2 separate regions of the Homo sapiens genome follow, and region 1 is linked to region 2. The links are contacts of gene promoters, found by promoter capture Hi-C in blood cells and fetal thymus (Javierre and others, 2016). All regions are on one chromosome and are shown on one strand. The core of a region is centred on a gene start or on the middle of the fragment in contact, and the rest is flanking DNA. Distances in the headings are between cores, read along the strand shown. Region 1 overlaps FGF12 (fibroblast growth factor 12). Region 2 holds the start of MB21D2 (Mab-21 domain containing 2).

Region 1 (6,930 bases), core at 2,110-4,609, 440 kb before region 2:
CAGAGGACAATCAATAGCAGAGCTTGTCCTCCACAATAACCTACTCAGCCAACACAAAAGTGTGTATGTTTACCAAACTAAGTAGAATTGTGTAAGATCTAAATTAGGCTAAGTGAAATTAAGTAGCTCTATGTTTTATGACCCAGAGAATCTGTTCTGTGCTATTTACCCAAGGTCTATAAAGGAATGTGTGTAATAACCGTCCCCACAATGTTTGTAGTTGTGGAAACTGAAGGCAACCTAGGTGTCCATCACTGGGGGATGGAAACATAAAAGGTAATGGATATAAAAAGTGGGCACTGTGCAATAAACTGAACCTGGATAGACTTCAAAAACAGTGTTGAATGAAGAGTCAGGAGATCAATAATAATACCACTTATGTAAATTTAAAACACACGCCTACATAAAAATTATCTGTTTTACAAAGCTATGTGTGTATATTTGGCACATATCAGATTCTGCATATCATGATGGGAAGGGGAATGGAACTGGATATAAAGGGAAAGAGTATGACAAAATAAGAGAAATGCATTTTCACTGAACCAAGATAATGATGTGTGATGCGCTGGAGAGTGTAACTAATTCCAATGTCCTCTCTGGAGGTAAAAATCAAAGTAGGCAATGTGTAAGAAGTCAATGAAATCATCAAAGGCCAATAATAAGATCAGTCTTTAACTTAAAAACAATTTTTTTACTCATATTAAATTTATTGTCATTCAAGGCCTCCAGAAGCTAAAGGGTAAGAGGTTTTTTTAAAAAATTCAGCACTGAAGATATTTTAATTCAAAACGACATGCGAGAACAATCTAAATGCATTACAATGCTTTGAAAATCCAACATTGGCTCTATTAAATATCTTGTTTTAGTAATGGAACTTTGTTGTTGTTGTTGTTGTTGTTGTAGTTGTTGAGACAGGTTCTCACTCTGTCTGCCTAGGCTGTAGTGCAATGGCACAATCTTGGCTCACCGCAACCTCTGCCTCCCAGGTTCAAGTGATTCTCCTGCCTCGGCCCCCCGAATATCTGGGATTAAAGTTGACCGCCACCACACCTAGCTAATTTTTGTATTTTTAGTAGAGATGGGGTTTCATCACGTTGGCCAGGCTGGTCTCGAACTCCTGACCTCAAGTGATCCTCCTGCCTCGGCCTCCTGAAGTGCTGGTATCACAGGCATGAGCCCCCACACCCGGCCTAGTAACGGAGTTTGATAACTGTCGTGAACATTCATCATTATCAGGGTACGTCAGTTATTCCTTGGGCTTTTTCTCCCACAAGGGAAAACTAATCTCTTCATTCTCCATGTTCATTTTACGCCAGTCACTGTAGCCCTTTCTCCATCTTCTGGACAAATGAAGCATGACCTCCTTGGGCTTGTGCTGCGGCTGACCCTTCTGTCTTCACTCTTCCTCCTCCACAGTTTCACACCTCCGGCTTCTCATCAAATGGCACTTCCCCAGACATCTTGCCTGACCACCTATTGAAATTACCTCTCCTCCACCCTTTATTATCCCCAGTGCAGTTTTATTTCATTGGTTGTTTCATTTAAAGTATTTTACTTTACATGATGACTTTCACTCTCTCCCCACTAGAATGTATGGCTCTTCAAGGCCTGTTCATTGTGATGTTACCAGTACTAGGAACGGTGCCTGGCAAGGATTAGATGCTCCATAAACATCATACTCGCTCAGGTTGCAGACATGTACTTCTTGGGAATGTTTTATTCAGATGCAGTTTTCAGCCCGGGAACAGAGCTTTCTCTGAGTCCCTATTTCTATTCTTAGCTTTAGGAGCCAAGCAGTGGTATAATTACTACATATGACACCAGAAAAAAATTACTTTTTAACATTTCTCTCCTATATGCAACAAAATTATTTGTAATCATAATACTAATAGAGAAATTTGCAAACAGTGAAAAAGTGTTTATTCAATTCTATATATAATGAAACCAGCAGTAAAATAAAAATAATGTAATGAGAAGAAATAAAACAATTACATTCATATACTTTTTAGAAAAGGGAAAAATTGTATACCATGGTTCATATTTTATTTCACTGATTTAAATGCTAGGCACAAAAGCTCTTCAAGTGGTCACAGAATTGAAGTAACTCAAATTACTTCTTCATCTTCACAAACTGTGTTATTATTGTTGATTTCAAATCTACTATTTAAATCCAGGAATTGATAGATATAAGCTGCTCTCAAAGTGAGCTGGGATATTCTGAGCCATGGCTAATTTATGCTCAAAATGAACATGTGTAGCTGAGTTTGCATGTATTGAGGACCGACTGTGGAACTGGGAAGTCTCTAAATTAGCTTTCATATAGATAGAATACAGTGTGTTCAAGGATACATGATTTTAAAATGTGAGAATTTCAAGCTTACATATTTATTCTAAAAACTCAACTGTAAGCAACTGCAACAGAAGATTTTTAAGGGGAAGAGTATGTTATCAAGTACCTGCACATGCTGATTAAAACAAAAAAAGCCTATAGATTGTATTTCACTTTATTAATTTTGTTTTTGTTGTTGTTTGTGTTTTGAGATGGAGTCTCGCTCTGTCACCAGACTGGAGTGCAGCGGTGTGATCTCGGCTCACTGCAACCTCTGCCTCTCGGGTTCAAGCAATTCTCCTGCCTCAGCCTCCTGAGTAGCTGGGACTACAGGCGCCTGCCACCACGCCCGGCTAATTTTATGCATTTTTAGTAGAGACGGGGTTTCACCATGTTGGCCAGGATGGTCTTGATCTCCTGACCTCGGGATCTGCCCGCCGCGGCCTCCCAAAGTACTGGGATTACAGGCATAAGCCACCGCACCCAGCCTAATATTTTTAAATCTGTAGACACCACACTCCCTTATTGTCCGTATTGGGTCAGGCCTCTCCGGTCATCCAGTCCAGCTACACCAGTGTAGGTTCAGATACTTGGAATGAAACTTAACATTTCCTTTCCTAACACTGTCACTTCCACATGGTACCTGGATGACACTCCATACTGTCACCTGGCTTTTTCTCCCTCTGATTTCTGTCTTCTGCTAGAGTCCAAAGGTTCCCCCAAAGCCCACATTCCAGGGCCTCCAAAGACTCACAACACCCTGGAAATTCCCAAAAGGCTAATAAGCTAAAACTCATGAACAGCATCCAGCTATTCCACAGAGGAATGAAGAGTAGGAAGGGAGAGAGTCATTCACACTCTGCTCCAGGAAGAGGGATGTCTCATTTTCTCTAATTCTCTTGCTCTCCCTGCTGGGCTCCTCAGCCCTGTCTCCTCACCTCCTCCCACTACTTGCCCTTCGTTCCTACCAGGGGTGTTAAAGACAAAAACACAAAGCCTGTGTCTCCATGATTTCGAGTTTGTACTTGCTATTCTCTTTACTTGGTATTGAGAAGTACAAATGTAATTTCTACCTAAATAATTCCTATCCCATTATTCAAAATTCTGTTCAAGTATCACCTGTTCTGAGAAGTCTCTCCCTATGTCTCTCTCCTTCATGGCAGGCTCCAGAAAGATTTAGCCATTTTCTCTTTAATGCCGTTTCTGTACTTGAAAAAACTTCTACAATTGACATGTTTTTACTCACTGTGATTTCTTTCAGTTCAGAGCCTATGAGTTTACTCATCTTTGTAATTCTAACTCTTAGGTTGTGTTCAATTTATGGAAAAATGTTTGATTGAAACAGGAAATACAAGATACAAGGTATGTTTTGGAGCCAATTGTAACTTAAAATTATCAACCACACCTCACCCCTCAAGCTGCAGAAGTTTGACCTAACCTTCAGAATGGCTGACACACTGATTTCCTTGTGCTTTCACTAATTTATTCCCATGCCTACTTCCAACAAGTTTTCTAGACCAGATGACATTACTTGCCATCCCTTATCATGAGTTGATGGTTATTATGGGGTAACTAAAGGCATAGTGGTCATTAAAGGCTGTATACATGGCTGGTGAATCCAGGAAATGAAATACAGAAATATTATTTAGCTGGTTACACTCTATCTAATTTCTATCTACGTGAAAGAAAACTCATGGTAATTATTACTTATATACCAATATGTCATTTCTGAAACACTTAAGAAATGAATTAGTGAAAATTCAATATTACTTTGTAAGTGTAGTATTTTGGGTTACTGTCCTGAATCATGTTTCCTCTCTAAAACAGGATTATACATCTCTATTTATTGTCAAATGACTTGTCATACATTCTCTGGGAAAGAACCACATTCCCACCTCATTGATTCTGCGCTTGGCCACCATGTGATATGCACTGGCCGTGTGACCAAAAGAACGGTGAGCAGACATTTGCCATGATTAAACAGAAGCCTTTAGTGTAACTGTGTGGATGGCTGAAGCTTTTCTGTTCTTGCCCTCCACCATGAGAATATCATGTCTCCAGACAGGGGTTGTTGCTCTTTCAGTAAAGGTTCCACAATGCAAAGAAACATAGAGCAGAACTACACTCACCTAGACTCATGCCCTGAAGCGCTCATGGTGTGTGAGCATGAATTAAATATTTATTGTAAGCCACTCAGCTTTATAGTTGGTCTTCACACAGAACACAGAAGAAAACCTTATGCATAGGGCAAATTATTGAAGACTGATTTTATTTTAATTTAAGGATAAGAATGATATCATATTGCCTTTTTATAGTTTGGCACATTAAAAGGTTCTAAATAAATATTTTGAATTAATATAATTGCAATAAAGTAAAACAGGTTGTGTTTAACGATGTAGAAATTAAAACTTTAAAAATTAGTTCTCCTTTGTGTATTGGACATCTGTTGTTTTTGTCAGTTCAGAATTTCTTCCTCTACTTCCAGGAACAACACTCATCTCATTTTAGGGGCAAGTAATTCTTCTAAGGCTTTTAATCATAGGACACTGGCTTCCCAGACCACAAGTTTAAGCACATAACCCAGATTTGGCCAATTATAGCACCTCATTTTCTCTGTCACAGTGATTGGTGCTTGGATAGGAACATAATCTAGGATGATAGAGTCCTTCCTTGAATTTCCATATACTGAAGTGGTTGGAGAAAACTGCTACCTTTTTTGTTGGGTTCACAGATGTAGTAAACTGCAGCCATGCCCAAAAGGTATAAAGAAAAAGGAAGGCCAGGTACGGTGGCTCAGGCCTGTAATCTCAACACTTTGGGAGGCCAAGGTGGGTGGATCACCTGAGGTCAGGAGTTCGAGACCAGCCTGGCCAACATGGTGAAACCCTGTCTCTACTAAAAACACAAAATTAGCCAGGTGTGGTGATGTGTCCCTGTAGTCCCAGGTATTTGGGAGGCTGAAGCAGGAGAATTGCTTGAACCCGGGAGGTAGAGGTTGCAGTAAGCTGAGATCGTGCCATTGTACTCTAGACTGGGAAACAAGAGTGAAACTTCATCTCAAAAAAAAAAAAAAAGAAAGAAAGGAAAAAGAAAAACAAAACAAAGCCCACAAAGAGAGTAGGAGAATTAACAGAATGTTCTGTGGGCTCTTGAGTCTTTTGCCTAGTTCTTGAAATCCCATATCTACCTCATTAATGTAGCTCTTCTTTCTGTGAGCAATCCTGGTATCCTTCTAACAATTCCTTCTTTGCTTAAGTAAATTAAAATTGAGTTTCTGTATCTCAAGTACTATTGAATATAATTTGAATTAAAGTAGCTTTCAACCATTAGTTTATAAATCAAAACAGAACAAATATTACATTGATCCAATTCAGCAAGTTGGGTTGTAAAGAATGATGATGCTCTTGAAAGCACGCCAGGTAACCCTAATCAGTGGTCCATTCTAGCTCTAAATTAGTAAGGATTAAGGATAGGTTGTTCCTGAGCCTTTCCAGAGCTTCCGCCCATATCCAAGGAAGACCTTTCCCCCTTAATCTATAAACGGAATGACTGGGACACAGAAAAGTGACATGCACACAAAACATACAACTAATGTAGGTGCCAGTGAAGGGCATGAGAGAGCATGATGCACAAGGTTGCAAGCCTTAGATGACTGGAAATACCAGCTTGGTCCAAGAATTATTTTTCCAGAAATACTGAAATAAATACAGAAAATACAAGGAAAGCACAAATTCAAAGATGTTTCTACCCACTGATGGGAAAGTTGTAAAGCTAAGCCAAACAGAAAAAGCCAGAGTGCTTTAAGTGATTATGGATTCCAGTATTTCAGGAGAGGCCCATGTTTTCTAGACCAAATCTTCTCATATCATAATTTTTAAATGACAAAGAAATGAAAGGATTACACGTCAGTGCAAAAGCTGTTCTCGTGATAGGGAAATTCACAGGGACCGAACACAACTTCTATGTGTCTGAAATACGATTCCGACCTAATAGTCAGAAAATTTCCTTCCAGAAGTCCACCACTTGAAGCCTAAAATCATTATAGATCAGATAGATGATAGATAGATAATAGATAGATGGTAGATATAGATGATAGATGATATAGATAGATGATAGATAGATAGATAGATAATGATAGGCAGATATATAAAATATTTCTGAAAAATAGCCTAGCCCACTCAGCAAAGAATGTAACAATCTATGAACTTCCCAAACCATCATCAAACAGCATAAAATAGAATAACGTGATCCCCAAGAGATCACCTGCAGCTCCAGGTGAGATGACACCCGAAAGACTTTCCATACATGGCCTAAACATTGGCTTCAGAGATCACATGTGAGCTCTATATTTTAAAGGGCAGGACAACATAAAAATAATCATAGCTACAATCTTGAAACTTTTTTCTGCATCCATTTACCTAAATGATTCTGCCCAGTGACTACCATTTAGTTCTTACCTATGAGGAAAATATTGTTATTTTTGTTTACAGATGAAAAAAAAATGAAGCCCAGAGGTCTCTAACAAAAAAGTGGCAGAATCTAAATGTGAATCCCAATTGTTTGAGTCTAAAGCCTGACTCCCACCACCACTCTACATTAAC
Region 2 (7,772 bases), core at 637-3,136:
AACTAAACAACTTAAGTAACTGCGCTCAGCCTTCTGTGTGTGGCCCCACCTTCCTGACAATCACTGTGTTGGCTTTTGGCTTTGTAAGCATTTTAGGCTTCCCTGTGGAAGCTCACTCCTACCAGGTTTTATATATATATATATATATATATTTAATTCATCTATTCATCTACATAGTTGAACGGCTGAATCTCTCAATAGTTTTTCAACCTCATACGCAACGTAAGACACACTTGAAGAGTGCGGCGCAAAAGGTAAAAACCAGCCTAGAGTTTTAACATGTTTCATCTAACTTCCCAACGCGTGAACAACTACCAGCGGACACAGACACGTTCAGTCTGTATTACCCCGTCCTTGGGCAGTGAGGAAGAAGAAAACCTAGAAGGAAGAAGGTATCCCAGGATAGAAGCAGCAACAGCCGGCTGAAACCCAATTAGATTGCAGGAGAAAGAGAAAAGCCCTGTCTTAGTCTGTGGCCAAAAGACCTTTCCCAATCAAATTTTTCAACACCTGGAAAATTGGCTTATCTATTTGTAGAGAGCACCCAGAGACGAGCGTTAGAGCAGCGCTACCCTGGAGTACCAGTTCTTCGGAATGTTGACCGCCGGCCACGCACCGCTTGACAGCCACGGATCCGCTGGCGGAGCCGCAAGTTACAACCCAGGCGCCTGGCAAACTCACACTACACCTCAGTAGCAATAATCCCAACGGCAGGACACCTGGGGAGGGTGGGCTCGGTCTCCCGGGCCTGGCTCAATTATGTTCCTTTACACAGCATTCAATCATGTTTCAGGAGCCGTAGGTGAGGGGCTGGAGGTGGGAGTGGGGGACACATTTTCTAGCCCCCGACGTCTCCGCGGTTGGAAACTCTGGGCACCTCTTTCGGCCAGCGCTAAGACAATACACAAAGAGCAGGGAACCGGCGCTCCTCTGCGGCCAGAGCTCCGCGCCTAGTCACGGAAGAGCTGGGAATTAAGAATTCCGAGCTCAGCGAGAGCCCTGAAGAAGCACCGGAAATGCTTCCGATCGCTTCATAAGAGAAGTCAATTTGCAAATCAAAGTTGCAGGAACTCCGGACGCCTAGACTACTTCAGCGGGTTACTCGGGAACACCCAACAAGTTTGGCCACCGGGGGCTCGGCATGACAGCGCCGCGCCGCGAGACGACAGAAGCAACTTGTCGCTCGGGCGCCAAGCCAGAGCCCTGAGCCGTCTCCGCTCCCAAGCTCGGGAGAGCACCCAAGAGCCGGCGTCGGGAAAGCGGAGGTCCCTGCCTCCGGCAGCCAAATCCCTCAACTGAAGGCACCTCAGGGGCTCACCTGGACTGCACTCGCTTCCAGGGGCTTCCCCCAACAGTGCAACGCTTCACCGCGAACGCCTCACCTGCCTGCCAGCCCCAGGTGGCGGAGAAATTAACAAAAGAGCAAGCGAACAGGGGGAAAGGGAGACCCGGCGTAAAGTATAGTAAGGAGGGGAGGGCAGGCAGCTCGGCTTTCGGCGGAGAAAGAAGAGAGAGGCGGAACAGAGATGGCTTATACCCAAGGCACCGGCTCGGGAAGGCAACCCAGAAGGGAAGAGGTCGAGAAGCGGCAATGGGTTTTCTACTCCGCTTCCCATCACACACACACACGCACACACACCTCCCCCTTTTTCCTCCTTACCCAGCATGGAAAAGATGAAATCCTTGGCTGTGTGAATCTCCAGCGCTCTCTGGTCGTCGTATTCCCGCTGGTCGTGCTTCGTAAATTCTTGGATGAGTTTGTTCAATTCCTCCACCCGAGCTCCCGACCTGAAATCCAGCTCCGGGAACGCAGGCTTGTTGTTACAGCCCAGGGAGGCTGCCTTGTTGGCGGTGGGAGCCGCCATCTTCATGCAAAACGCGCCGAGTAGCAGCTCCGCGGCAGCGCGGCACCCACCCCCGCCCCCCACCCCGCCCCCCTGGGCCTCCTCCCCTCGCAGGCTCCCAGGCTTTGGCCCCGGCTCGTGGGCGGGTTGGCGGGCGGGCGTCTGGGCGGGCAGTCCCCCGCTCCGTGCGCTCTGGGCGTGCGAGCTTCGGGAGGAGCTGGACTGCAGCGAGGGTGCGTGTGTGGCCCCGACACCCTTTTCTCCGGCCCCACGCCCGCCCCGATGCTGCGCGTCCCTGCCCTGCCCTGGCCCTCTCTGGCAGCGGCAACGGCGGTCGTAGAGCCAACTGGAGCCTCCCCCGGGCGAGGAAAGTGAAGTGGAAACAATGTGAAATTCACCAGCTCTGAAATCAACAAGCTGCCGGCTCCGGTGTTACGGAGCCAGCACCAGCGTCTCCATTTAAAGGGACAGCGCACCCAGTGGAAAGGAAAATAAATAAATGACAGAGGTCTGCACGCATATACCACTTGCCAATCCGTACTTGGGAAGACGCGCGAGGTGTGGATGCATTCTTTCTCCACCTCCACGGCCGTCCCCCCATCCCCTTTCTGGGCAGGGTTTGCCAAGCGCATTCAAGGAGAAGAAAGTCTTCCTCCGTTTGATTTTAAGGGCGGTGTCCTGGGGGAGGACATCTCTGTGCGCGTTTACCTCTCTATCCCAAGAACTCCAATACCTTTAAATAGTAAAGGAAACTGCCTTAAGGAATATGAAACCTGTCTTCTACCCTTTTCCTCTTGGATTGCCAAGATGATAGGATTGAGCGTATAAAAAAAGAGGGTCCACATCTAACCCAGTATTGGCACTCCCACTAACCCCTAGATATCCCTACCTTTGCCCAAGGTAATTAATGACCTGAATAACAGCTTATTTATCTTAACATATAATGAGTTAATGAGATTCAACCTACTCTAATATAAAGATAGGGAAACTGAAGTGTGGGTGTGGGAGAGGGGAAACAATGTATTGCCCCAGGTTCCAAGAAATGTTGGATGACAAGATGAAAATTTTCTCATTCAACAGATAAAATTTGAGTACGCACCATTTGCCAGATGGAGTGACAGAATGTGACAGTGATAACCAAAAGACATGGCTCCTACCATGGAGTTAGGCTTACATGACAAGGCAGGTTCAATCTAAGTCATAGTCCTTTAGGCAGAATAGAGTCTCAGAGGTGGTTTTAGTGTTTATGGGGTGTATCATTCAAACACTTAGGAGGCCCATTGGCTGTGAGAAACATAGGTTATCTTCCTCCCTAATTCTCCAAAATCTCTCTTCTCTATCCCACAGTCCCTGATTTAGATCAGGTCTGTTTCACTTTCTTACCCGAGTTCTCATGGCCAAGAATACAAATTGTTTTGTTAGACATGGAAGGAAGTACGGACTCTTCCATGCCTTCCCCTATAAAATGGGAATAATAATTCCTGTCTCACAGGTTGTTTTAAGGATTACGTGAGATAAAACAGGTCAAGCACTTAGTTCAAGGACTGACATAATAAGTACTTAGCTATTATCAGCTTCTACTATTATTGTTATTAATTCTTTCACTGTTCCTCAATCTAGTAACAACTTGTTGCCAGAGTGATCTTTAGAAAACACAGACCTGACCACTGACCTCCCCCTGGAATTCCTCTCTTCTTTACTCCGTTTACACCAAAACCAATCCGCGTCTGCCTTTTTCTTACAGCTTTCCGGAGACCCTCCCCTCAAGCTGGTGGCAACTTTTCCTTCCTCAGAACCTACTCTCAGAAGCTTTCATATGATGCTAATGAATTTTGACCTTGCTTCATCATTGCTTTTTGTTTTGGGTTGTGTGTGTGTGTGTTTGTTTGTTTCTGAAACAGGGTCTTCCTCTGTAGCCCAGGCCAGAGTGCAGTGGCACAATCGTGGCTCACAGCAACCTCAACCTCCTGGGATTAAACAGTCCTTGCATCTAGATCTCTCAAAGGGATTACAGGCGTGAGCCACCACACCTGACCACTTCATCATTGTTAATGCAAGTTTTAGACTAAAAGATTCTTGGGGATGAGGGCTACATCTTATTCATCTTTGTATTTCCTGCAGCATATGGTCCTACCGAAGGGTCCTCTATGTTTATTGAATCAAGTAATGAGTGAAGAATTGTGGCATAACCAGTTAATTTCTCTTACTTTTCGTTTCCTTCTCTTTGAAACACACTTCCTCACCCACTCAGTATGAAAGAGAGAGGATCCATGCCTAGATAAATGCTGGTGGACTGATGAGGAAGTGACTTAAAAACTCTGGTTTTTAGGCAGGGCGTGGTGGTTCACGCCTCTAATCCCAGTACTTTGGAGGCCGAGGCGGGCAGATTGCCTGAGCTCAGGAGTTCGAGACCAGCCTGGGTAACACGATGAAATCCCATCTCTACTAAACATACAAAAAATTAGCCAGTTGTGGCGGCGTGCACCTGTAGTCCCAGCTACTTGGGAGGCTGAGGCAGGAGAATTGCTTGAACCCAGGAGGCGGAAGTTGCAGTGAGCCGAGATCGCGCCACTGTACTCCACCCTGGGTGACAGAGTGAGACTCCATCTCCAAACAAACAAACAAACAAACAAACAAAGCAAGCTCTGGCTTTCGCAGCTCTGCTATGCTGCCCTGACTTCTCATCCTGAGAGGATATTAACATTACCTGGGCAGTACTAGAAGCCACATAAGTGTTTGGAACTCCAGCACAAAGTGATCCACTCCCATCTGTCAGTGCTTCACTAGTGATCAATGGCAGGCACCTGTGCGACAGCTGGCTGAGGCAGTCATTCCATAGAGCAGAATGGTTCTAGTTACCTCCAAACCATGTACAGTTAAGAAATACTTCAGACAACAAAATCGAAACACTTTTTATTTGTTAATTTCCAAACATATGAATGAGGCATCACTAATCTTCCCTTAATTTTACCTTTTCTTATGATATTTATATCCATAAAGAAACAACAGGTTGTTAGCAGAAAGTATTCCTGTTGTGCCGTAGTGCTGGACCCTGGGGGTTTGAATGAGTGAGTGGTCTCTCTGATGTTCCTCATTGTCTGTTCTCCTTCCCGTCAGCCAGATCAGATTTCTATGAATCATGGACCCTCAGTGAGCCCGCATATCCAGATAATGTAATTGGATGGTAAACTAACACCTTCCTAGGCTCTAATAGAACGCTGATAAGATTGTGTCAATATCCCTTGTTGAATTAGAAGAATAGAGAAAAACGATCAAAAACCATAATTTCCTGAATTGATCTATTGGGAGACTTTTTAACCTCTGAGCTTCTCAAGGGCAAGTACTGTGTTTCTTCACCTGTGTAAACACTGCATTTAATTTAGTTCTTGACCCATCTTATGACCTTAGTTTATATGTTCAAATGAATATATAAAAGAATGAATGAAGCCGGGCACGATGACTCACACCTGTAATCCCAGCACTTTAGGAGGCCAAGGCGGGCAGATCACAAGGTCAGGAGTTCAAGACCAGCCTGGCCAACATAGTGAAACCCCATCTCTACTAAAAATTCAAAAATTAGCTAGGCATGGTGGCATGCACCTGTAGTCCCAGCTAGTTGAGAGGCTGAGGCAGGAGAATCGCTTGAACCCGGGAGGTGGAAGTTATGGTGAGCCGAGGTTGCACCACTGCACTCCAGCCTGGGCAACAGAGGGAGACTCCTTCTCAGAAAAAATAATAATAAAAAAGAATGAACTAATACCATCCCTCAAAGTCCAAGAAGTCAGAATTTAGGTGATTTTTGCTACAATTTAAATATCTCAATGTAAGCTATCTATGGTTTCCCAGTATTTAGTTAAGTGTTGTTATAAATGTAAGTATTTCTGCATGCATTTAATTAAATGCCCCAATTTTTATGCCTTTTTCTCCCTGTGTATGTTATATGACCTAAGAGAAGGAAGAGAGATAGAGAGGAAGGTGGAGAGAGAGAGAAAATCATTATTAGAAGATGTTAAAGAGTGTCTGAGGCTTGAATAAAAATGCATATCTCTAGAATTTTGACAGATGGACAAAGGTCAGTGGAGTCTACCATCTAAACAAGCACTAAGGTAGGCTTTTCCTTTGCTGGCTCTTGCAGCATCAAACAGAACAGAGTAACAGCCTGCATTTCCAAACTGCTGTCACACTTAGAGGTAGAACTTGCCCTTCTACTCCCAACTCCCAAATTTTATTAGCATGTGAAAGAAGTCTTCATCTTGCTTCTCTGGAGCTGTTTGTTGTTAAATACAGCTCTGAAGTTCTGTGGCAAACTCTCAGCCATGAATAACTGGGCTGTGCAGAGCCTGCATTAAAAATAGCAAGCTCCACATCCACATGATGGATTAACAAAATATAATTTTAAACAAAGATTCTCTGGTCTGAGGGAGATTTAAATAGCAGCCTAGGCTACAAGATCTGGCCTTCTTGGGCAGCTGGATTTTCAATAAAAGTCTAACAAATGGAAGTGGCCTGGGTTTTTTATGATTTGAAATGCAGGCAGGAAAAAGAGAGGCAAACATCACAGACGTGTGGAATGTTGACAGTAGAAGGAACTTAGATGATAAATTCCATCTACCCCCCTTATTTACCAGATGGGAGAATGAGGGCACAGAAAGAGAAGGGAAACTTGACTAGATAGTAGAGACAATTCTGTTTCTATTTTTCATACTAACTTTAAATTTACTAAATATTTGTTATTGTGTTTCCAGACTGCCAGAAGGAACATGAAAAATGCCACGAAATTTGATCAAAATTATAATTTAAAAAATAAAAATAAAAACAGGAGAGTGGCCCTTGGGCAAAATGCACTCATTTCACTTGAAGTTAAATCTCAGTAAACCAGAAACTGCTGACATTTGGAATTACTTGGCTACTGATTTTTCCTGGCAATAGGTAGACAATCAAGACTACAGCTAAATCTCTTTGGTAGTCATAAACAGAGGTGCGCACGTCCCTGCTTGGGGCAAATCGGGCACTGTTACTTCTAATGAGATTAGGCCGTTTAATTTTTTTTTTTTTTTTTTTTTTTGAGACGGAGTTTCGCTTTGTTGCCCAGGCTGGAGTGCAGTGACACCATCTCAGCTCACTGCCACCTCCACCTTCTGGGTCCTGATTCAAGCAATTCTCCTCCCTCAGCCTCTGGAGTAGCTGGGATTACAGGCACACACCACCACACCCGGCTAATTTTGGTATTTTTAGTAGAGACAGGGAATCACCATGTTGGCCAGACTGGCCTTGAACTCCTGACCTCATGATCTGCCCACCTCAGCCTCCCAAAGTGCTGGGATTACAGACGTGAGCCACCGCGCCCGGCCTTAGGCCATTGAAATATTAGCGAGGTCCCCAGAACAATATAAATAACCCTCTCTATTCAGACTATTCAGTCCTAATAAAGTGAGGCCCATGTGAAGCCCACCTGCTCTGATGTGTTCACATGGTTCAGAGGGCCTAGTCCCAGCTTCTCCCTCAACCCTGTATCCTCATAACCTTGAGGGCGTGAGTGATCTAGCTATGGAGAAAAGTGCAGCAATGTAAATCTCTCCACTCAGTCTCTCATTTTATTCTCTGCTCTCTCTCTCTCCCCCAACCCTGTACTCTAATGACCTTGAGGGCGTGAATGATCTAGCTATGGAGAAAAGTGCAGCAATATCAATCTCTTCATCCAGTCTCTTGTTTTATTCTCTACTCCTGCTATACTCAGGGAAGCAAAATCTGTGCGTGTGAAAAGAAGGAAATGAACTCTAGGGATGGAAATAACAATATCTGATAGCAATTATTAACAATTCCTCCTGATAATAGAGCACTTTACAGTTCAACAAAGCGCTCATCACAAAATTCATTTATCGGTTCCTCACAGCCTCTTACTGAAGCAGGTTAGTGAGGACTATTATT

Evidence for each region. Contacts are between HindIII fragments. The CHiCAGO score rates a contact against its expected background, and 5 or more counts as called.
Region 1: a fragment that was not itself captured here is called in contact with the fragment with the promoter of MB21D2 in region 2 in 1 of 17 cell types (total B cells); the score reaches 5.2 in total B cells.

The regions. Positions count from the first base shown.
Region 1 is chr3:192,469,498-192,476,427 of GRCh38, forward strand. All of the region lies in intron 2 of FGF12 (fibroblast growth factor 12), which reads right to left. Among named protein-coding and RNA genes, the nearest start is that of FGF12-AS2, 42 kb to the right of the region's middle. The HindIII fragment of the contact is 1,970 bases long and covers 2,375-4,344 here.
Region 2 is chr3:192,915,970-192,923,741 of GRCh38, forward strand. MB21D2 (Mab-21 domain containing 2) reads right to left here and starts at 1,887. Exons shown (of 2, transcript NM_178496.4): 1 at 1,661-1,887. The coding sequence starts at 1,871. RefSeq lists an enhancer at 853-1,182 and a silencer at 1,833-2,192. The HindIII fragment of the contact is 3,892 bases long and covers 1-3,651 here.